Regions from separate parts of the Homo sapiens genome. Here region 2 is linked to region 1. The links are contacts of gene promoters, found by promoter capture Hi-C in blood cells and fetal thymus (Javierre and others, 2016). All regions are on one chromosome and are shown on one strand. Each heading gives the region's core, a stretch centred on a gene start or on the middle of the fragment in contact. The rest is flanking DNA. Distances are from core to core; before and after follow the strand shown. Region 1 holds the start of KDM5D (lysine demethylase 5D). Region 2 has its middle 320 kb from the start of TTTY14.

Evidence for each region. Contacts are between HindIII fragments. The CHiCAGO score rates a contact against its expected background, and 5 or more counts as called.
Region 2: a fragment that was not itself captured here is called in contact with the fragment with the promoter of KDM5D in region 1 in 1 of 17 cell types (naive CD4 T cells); the score reaches 5.4 in naive CD4 T cells.

The regions. Positions count from the first base shown.
Region 1 is chrY:19,742,354-19,746,718 of GRCh38, reverse strand. KDM5D (lysine demethylase 5D) reads left to right here and starts at 1,993. Exons shown (of 27, transcript NM_004653.5): 1 at 1,993-2,048; 2 at 2,166-2,334; 3 at 3,480-3,557. The coding sequence starts at 2,185. It overlaps KDM5D-DT (KDM5D divergent transcript), which reads right to left and starts at 1,934. Exons shown (of 3, transcript XR_938630.4): 1 at 1,006-1,934. The HindIII fragment of the contact is 5,320 bases long and covers 1-2,616 here.
Region 2 is chrY:19,392,288-19,396,652 of GRCh38, reverse strand. No RefSeq gene overlaps it. Among named protein-coding and RNA genes, the nearest start is that of TTTY14, 320 kb to the right of the region's middle. The HindIII fragment of the contact is 2,732 bases long and covers 772-3,503 here.

The sequences.
Region 1 (4,365 bases), core at 744-3,243:
ACACTGAAAGTACAAGTGACAATAGAAAAAAGCAAACTGGATAAAGATCAAATTAAAAATCTTTCTGTTCAAAGTTTACTATTAGGAAAGAGAAAAGCCAGCTTACAGAATTATTTTTTATAAAAATCAAATATTTGATAAAAGAATCAGATAAGATTACAACTAAACAAAAAAAGACAAACCAATGTGAAAAGAGCCAAAAATTTTGAATAGACATTTCTCCAGAGAAGGTATATAAAGCATATGAACAAGCCAACAACCTTACGAAAAGATGCTCAACACTACTGTATCATTAGTAATTCAAGAAGTCCAACTCAAAACTCTATGAGATCTCATACACATTGTAATGGTCAAATCAGTAAGTCATGTAATTATAGTATTGGTGAGGACATGAAGAAACTAGAACGGTATTCCACTTTAGATGGAAATTAAATGATGAAGATGCTTTGGAAAAGAAAAGTTTAAACCTAAAGTTCCCATATAACCCACTAATTCTACTTGTAGGTGTATACACACGAGAAATGACACTAAGCATGCACACAAAAACCGGTACACAAATGCTAATAGCAACATTATAATAGCTAAAAGTAGAAATTGAAATATCTATTTACTAATGAATTCATAAAATATAAAGCTGTATTATAATGAATTATCTTGAACAGAGAAAAAAGATCTCATCATTTGAAATAATACAGGCTCTATAACTAATTTTATGAAATAGAACTCTATAACTCTAACTTTATGAAACAGAAAAAGTATGTAGATAAAACTAGGAAAAAGAAAGCAGAAAATTAAGTAACAACTTTTGAAACAGGAATATATATGTAATGTAGTATAATAAACTCATGAAGCCGATAATCTAGATGAAATGGATAAATTGTTAAAAAAAAAAACGGAAATGCCAAGAATCGTACAATACGAAACAATTGTCAAACTATCAAACTTTAAGGCACTTCTGGCAGTGCCCTTCCAAATAAAATCTACCATTTGATTTTTAAAACTTACCTTTTGCGTATTTTTCAAAAATATATGGAGAACAAAAAGATACTACAGTAGTGAACTGATTAAAAAAAAACAGAATAGCAATGTAGGGGGATTTTTGCTTAACGGGTGTAAAATATTGTAAATAAAATTATAGGAAATAAAGTGTAACATCTTGTTTTGAAATAAAACATCGCAATAAAGTATAATTTCCCTTAAAAACAGCATGATATTTCCACATCAAAAAACGGATCATTAGCAGTGTGTTTCTTTTGATTTATGGTACGTGTGTTTAGCGATGTTGAAGGTTTACTGTAATCTGTCCAGGTCTTTGTGATCATTTTAAAATTTAGGGTGCTCCTAGGTAATTTTTAAGGGATGTTTATCATGTGCAGTAAAGGTTTTATTCAAAAACATTTAGCACTTCTTTTCCCCGTCCTAAAGTCCAAGCTCGAGTTGGTAAAAAATCCAACGACAAATGTGCCCACTTGAAGTGCACTGTTAATGCAACAGTTTACAAGAACATAAATACATTGTACCGGCATCCTGCCTCCTAAACGTCTTGTGACAGGAACGTTCTCGAGCTGAGAACCCAGTGAGTCTTCAGAGAATGTTAGTAAACACTTTCACATGAACGGATATCGCCGGCGGTTTGTCCTGGCAGGAAAAAAAAAAGGTGCGTTTCTACGGACATTTCCGCAAAGGAGGAATTTTCTCCGAGAAATCCTTCGTTGATCAGCACCACAGCCTTTTACGGTCCTTCCCTGCAATACGCAGGCGTAACTTGCGCAGTGGTCCCATTTTAAAAAAGATCCGGCCATACTATTTTTATCTTGCTTTTTCGTTCTGTCGCAGTACTGTTTAATATGAGTCCAGCGACGGCTCTGTGACTGTTTTCCTCTGGTAAAATCGCTCTTGCGTCCTCAGCGTTTATCTCAGGTGCGGAAGGTCTCACAGGTTTGGAAATAGCGCCGGAAAAATCGATCCGCGGAGTGAGACGGCTCGTACCACACTGCAGGGCCCGGAGGTCAAGATGGTGGCTGTAAAACTAGGATCCCTGACGATTGGTAAGCAGCTACGGGATTAAAGTAACCTTGAAATTCTCAAGAAAATGAAATTTTCATAGGCCTTTTAGTAGGAGGAACCAGCGCGTCATTAAAGACAATGTGATTCTTATTTTACAGCTTAGCATTAAGGCCCGACATGGAACCGGGGTGTGACGAGTTCCTGCCGCCACCGGAGTGCCCGGTTTTTGAGCCTAGCTGGGCTGAATTCCAAGACCCGCTTGGCTACATTGCGAAAATAAGGCCCATAGCAGAGAAGTCTGGCATCTGCAAAATCCGCCCACCCGCGGTAAGTCTTTGAAACAAAATTTGGGAATGGGTAGCCTTTGGTTTGAACGTTGGGGCAGTTTACCACTTGGCGAGGCGTTATTTACACTCATGACCAGAAACCCTTAGCACCAAATTTCTCATTTAACTTTTCTGACCCGAACAAGCTGGCATCAGAATATTAGTATCAGATCGCCACATTCCACGGGGTTCTAAACATCTGACTGCTGTAGGGACAAAAATATAAGATTCAAATATTTCTACGTTCTGCTGTTATTAAATATAGTTTAGGCATACACAAGCTTTTATTACATTTAACCGCAAAAAAATAGCTTACTCAGAAGTACTTGATCTATGACAGAAGCAAGTTATATAAGCTTGTGTGTTAACCACTTGGACTGGTGTTTTCTTTCTTTGATATGACCTTAGATGTATGTAGCAAATATAGCAAATAATGGGAGTGATGTGGCATCCTTTGCCATCAATTAAATTTATTATTAAACGTAGACCATTTTGGGTTGCTATACTGAAAACTACTAAATGAACCTCGTAGAAGTTTGACTGAATTAAGAATGTAAACTGAAATAAGCCTGGGCTGTCGTCGTGAACAACTAACACAATATTCAGAGAAGTCAAAAAGTTTTCGCAGAGCATACAGCTTTTTTCTCATATATTGAACCAGGCTGCAACGTTATTTTTATGTGGATGTTCGCACTTCTCAGCATTTGCAATTAAACTTTTTCGTACTGCTGGGAGTGGGAAGAGATAATGGCTTAGGTTTTAAAAAGTGAAACAATTTTTTATCTGCATTACATTTATCTTCATTTTAGTAAGGACTCATAACCCAAATAGCATAGTGTTTGTTCAGATGTGCGTCATTCCTTGGAAGTCGAGTCGCTTTCTAGCCTTGGGATTATAGAGGTTTTTTTTTTTTTTTTCGTCTGTTACGAAGGACACATATCAAGGAGAGTTTTGGATTTGCAGGGTTTTTCCTTTTTTTTTTTTTTTTGCAGTTAATCTTGATTATGAAGAAGGAATCATTTGAGGCCCTTGTGTACAAAAATGGTTACCAGAAGACTTTAAAAGAGTGGGAACAAATGATTGTGGTTTTCACTATCTTCATCCTTTACTGTGCCATAGTTACCAGGTCCTTACACTTTCTTCTAGGATTGGCAGCCTCCTTTTGCAGTAGAAGTTGACAATTTCAGATTTACTCCTCGCGTCCAAAGGCTAAATGAACTGGAGGTAAGATTGGGAGGCACACTTTTTTTAAAGGAATCTGATCTTTAATCTTGCCGTTGTAGTTTCATAATAATGTAGAACTTAAGTTTTGAAATCTAATGTATTGAATTTGAACCCGAACTCCACCATTTTCCAGAATACTGATTTTGGAGAAAGTCTTCTATAAAATACATAATTTATGTCCACAAAAATGGTAGAACACAAAGGCTTTAAATATCTGAGGAAGAATGATGCATTGTTTCGCTGTTCAATAGTTTCAGGTTAGAACTATCAAAATGACAGTACCTTTCCCATTTTGTCTTCTCGTACTCACATATTTAATGAATGAATTTTTTTTTTTGAAACAGAGTCTCACCCTGTCTACCAGGCTGGAGTGCAGTGGCGGGATCTCGCCTCACTGCAACCTCCACCTTCCAGGTTCAAGGGATTCTCTTGCCTCAGCCTCTCAAGTAGCTGGGATTACAGGTGCACACCAGCAGGCTCAGCTAATTTTTGTATTTTTAGTAGAGATGGAGTTTCACCGATTTGGTCATGCTGGTCTCCAACTCCAAACGTTAGGTGATCAGCCTGCCTTGGCCTCCTAAAGTGCTGGGGTTACCGGCGTAAGCCCCTGCACCCAGTGTGACTAAATTTTTTTTAGTTCTTTAACAGAAGCAGAGTTCAGACAAGAAATAGGATCTTTTAAATATCCAGCAACAGAGTGATGGTATTACATATGTTCTGCTTTAATAAAATGTCAGAGGCAAACTTGCTCTTTAAAGCAGTCAACTCAGTCTTCACAGTTTAGTATTCAATATAGAAAGTATATGAA
Region 2 (4,365 bases), core at 888-3,387, 350 kb after region 1:
AAATTACTTCTGCAGTACCTGGGGACAATCCAAATACTGAGACTGTCCAAATTGTGGAAGTGGGAGAATGGGATCATTTGCCCCTGAAAACACACCCCACTAGGGAACCTAAATGTCGATGTCAGGATAGTAGAATTGCAGCTCACCTGAAGCTGAGTTAATTTAGAGAGCCAAGCCAAATACCTGGGTAGAGGAGGCAGTGGGAAAAGCCTTTTGAGTTCTCTGGGTCCCCAAGAAAGTAATTTCTTACTTTTCTCCCTGGGGTCTTCATGGTGAATGCCAGAGGAACTGGAAAAAGACTACAAGAAGAAAGGAACCTCCAACTGAAATTTTAAACAATTACAATCAAATATGAAGTCTCCTGGTCAGAACTCGAGGAAGAAATTAATCCAGCGTGCAGACTTGACAGGCAGGGAGCGGGGAAAGTCCTGCTTGCTTTCTCAGTATCCTGGTTCAAGTTCTCAGTCCTGCTGGCTCACTGTCTGGAAACTAACTCAGTGCTGCTGAGAGGAACACTGTGGGAGTGAAACTGGATTTTTGGGTTGTATGGAAGCTGAGTGAGGCCTGTAAATGCTGAATTTTCCCCACATCTCTGAAAACCTGAATGGCACAACAGATGCAGCCATAAACCTCCTGGGAACATAACTCACTGACCTGAAAACCAGATCCCCATCCCCATAGCAGCAGCAGCAGCAAGACCTTCCAGAAGGGAGTCTGAGCTCAGACTCATCTCACCCTTCCTCCACCTGATGGTCCTTTCCTATCCAAGCTTGTAACATTGTAGCTGAGGACAAACGTCTTATTCTATTGAGAGTTCTGCGGGTGCATCCACTGTCTGATCCTTTCTATACTTACCACAGCTAGTGCTCTCTTGAAAGCACCAGCTTCTGAGAGGATGTCAACCAGCACTACACTAATGCATTAAAGAACTATACAACTAAGTACCCCCACAGAGCCCATTGTACTTCCCTTTCACCTCCACTGGTGCTAGTGCTGGTATCCATGGCTAAGAGACCTGAATATGGTTCACATCACAGGACTCTGCACTTTAGTATCAGTGTGGAGCTTGTTAGCTTGCTGAGTGGCTAGATCCTGAGGAAAAATAAAAATCACTACAATTCAGCTCAGAGGAAGCCACATCTCTAGTAAGAGGGGCAGAGTACTACATCGAGAGAACCCCAAGGAAGAAAAGAATCTGAACAGCAGCCATAAGCCCCAGATCTTTTTTCTGAAATAGCCAACCCAAAGGAGAAGAAACTGGAAAAGTAACTGGTAATTTGACAAAACAAGGTTCTTTAACATCCACAGAATGTCACATTAGCTCACCAGCAGTATATCTAAACTAAGAAAAAAATCCCTGGATTGCCTGAAGAAGAATTTGAATGTTTTGATTATTAAAGTAAACACGGCACCACCAGAGAAAATAAACTGTCAGGAAATAGATAGCATTAAACAATTACAATTTCAAGAAATAAAGGAAACACTTAGAAAAATGCAAAAAGTACCAGAAAGTCTCAGCAATAGAATCAAACAAGTATGAGAAAATACCTCAGGCCTCAAAGAAAGAGTTTTGAATTAACCCAATCTAAAAAAGACAAAAAAAAAAAAAAAAAAAAAAAGAAGAAGAAGAAAGCCTCCATGATATTTGGGATTATGTTAAGTAATTAAACCTAAGAATAATAGACATTTCTGAGGAAGAAGAGAAATCTAAGATTTTAGAAAATGTATTTGAGGAAATAATAATTCAGAAAAAATTTCTGGCCTTGCTGGAGATGTAGACATCCAAACACAAGAAGCTCAAAGAACACCTGAGAAATTTATTGCAAAAATGTCATCACCAAGAGACATTGTCGTTAGGCTTTCTAAAGTCAAGAGGAAGGAAAGAATCATAATAGCTGTGAAGAAAAGGCACTAGATAATTTATAAAGAATTATAGATTCTTATAAAGATTATTAGATTAACAGCAGATTTTTCAGCAGTAACCCCACAAGCTGGAAGGAATTGGGGCTTATTTTTAGCCTCCTTAAATGAAGCAATTATCAGCCAAAAATTTCATATCCAGTGAAACTGAGCTTCATAACTAAAGGAAACATACATATTTTTTAGACAAACCAATGATGAGTGAGTTCACCACTATCAAGCCAGCACTTAAAGAAACTCCCCCCGCCAAAAAAAACCTCTACATCTTCAAACAAATCCTAGAAATGCATCAAAACAGAGCATATTTACAGCATAAATCTTACAGGACCTATAAAAATAAAAATTAAAGAAGGTGTATTCAGGCATCTAACAGCACAATGAATGGAGGAGTATCTCACATTTCAATAATAATGTCAACTGTAAATGGACTGAATGCTACACTTAGAAAACAGAGAATAGCAGAATGAATGAGAATTCACCAATCAAGTATCAGCTATCTTCAAGAAACTCACCTAACCCATAAGGACTCACATAAACTTAAAGTAAATGGGTGAAAAAAAAATTATGCAAATGGACACCAAAGTTGAGCAAAAGTAGCTGTTCTTATTTTAGACACAGCAAACTTTAAAGTAACATAAGTTAAAAAAGATGGTGAATTATAATACTATGATAAAAGGCCTTGTCAAACAGAAAAATATTACAATCCTAAATATATATGCACCTGACACTGGAACTCCCAAATTTATAAAACAATTGCTACTAAATTAAGAAATAAAATAGATAGCAACACTGAAATAATGTGGGAATTAAATACTGTGGCTACAGCACTGTACAGGTTATCAAGACAGAAAGTCAGCAAAGAAACAAGGGATTTAAACTCTAACCTAAGAAAAATAGAATAGGTATTTACCGAACATTCTACCCAATGACTACAGAATATACATTCTATTCCTTAGCAGATGGAACTTACTCTAAGATAAACCATATGATAGGCCACAGAACAAGCCTCAATAAATTTAAGAAAATTGAAATTATATCAAGTACTCTCTCAGAACGCACTGGAATATAATTAAAAACCAACTCCAGGCCAGGTGCAGTGGCTCATGCCTGTAATTCCAGCAATTTGAGAGGCTGAGATGGGTAGATCACCTGAGGTTGGGAGTTCGAGAACAGCCTGTCCAACATGAAGAAACCCTGTCTCTACAAAAATGCAAAATTAGTTGGGCATGGTGGTGCATGCCTGTAATTTCAGCTACTCAGGGGGCTGAGGAAGGAGAGTTATGTGAACCCAGGAGACAGAGGTTGCAGTGAGCTGAGATCACACCATTGCACTTCAGCCTGGGCAACAAGAGTGAAACTCAGTCTAAAAAAAAAAAAAAAGAAAAAAGAAACCTTTGAAGGTTCCAAGGAACCTTCAAAGCCTTGTAAATACATAGAAATTAAATAACCTGCTCCAGAATGATCATTGGATCAAAAATGAAATCAAGATAAACACTAAAAATTTTTTTGCTCTGAACAATAATGGTGAAAAAAACCTATAAAAACCTCCAGGATACAGCAAAGTGGCTGCTGAGAGGAAAGCTTATAGCTTTAAACCCTTATGTTAAAAAAGACTGAAGGAGCACAAATAGGCAATCTAACATCACATCTCAAGGAACTAAAGAAAGAAGAAACCAATCCAAAACTCAGCAGAAGAAAGGAAATAACTGAGATCAGAGAGGAGCTAAGTGAAACTGAAACAAAAATATACAAAACATAAAAGAAACAAAAAGCAGTTATTTAAAGACAAATAAAATTGATAGACCATTGGCAATATGAACCAAGAAAAGAAGAGAGAAGATCCAAATAATTAGAAAGAAAATGAGAGATATTACAACTGACACCACAGAAATACAAAAGATTGTTCAAGACTACTATCAACAGTTTTACATACAGGAGCTAGAAAACCTAGAAGAAATGAAAAAATTCCTGAAAATGTACAACCCTCTTAGCATAAACTGGTAAGAATTAGAAACCCTTAGCAGACCTATAACAAGGAGTGAGATTGAAAAAGTAATTTAAAAATTACCAACAACAAAAACAAAGGCCAGGACTAGATGGATTCACCACTGAATTCTATCAGGGATTCAAAAAAAAAAAAAAAAATGCTTTGAATCTATCGATAATATTCCACAAGAGAAAGCCAGTATCACCTTATTACCAAAACCAAGAAATAATATAGCAACAACATAAAACTACAGATCAATATCTCTGATTAATATAGATGTGACAATCCTTAACCAAACGCTATAGCTGACTGAATTCAACAATATATCAAAAAGATAATCTACTATGATCATGTGGATTTTATGCCAGGGATGCAGGGATGCTTTAACCCTCAACCAATGTGATTTACCACCTAAACATAATTAAAAACAAAAATCATATTATCATCTCAATAGACAC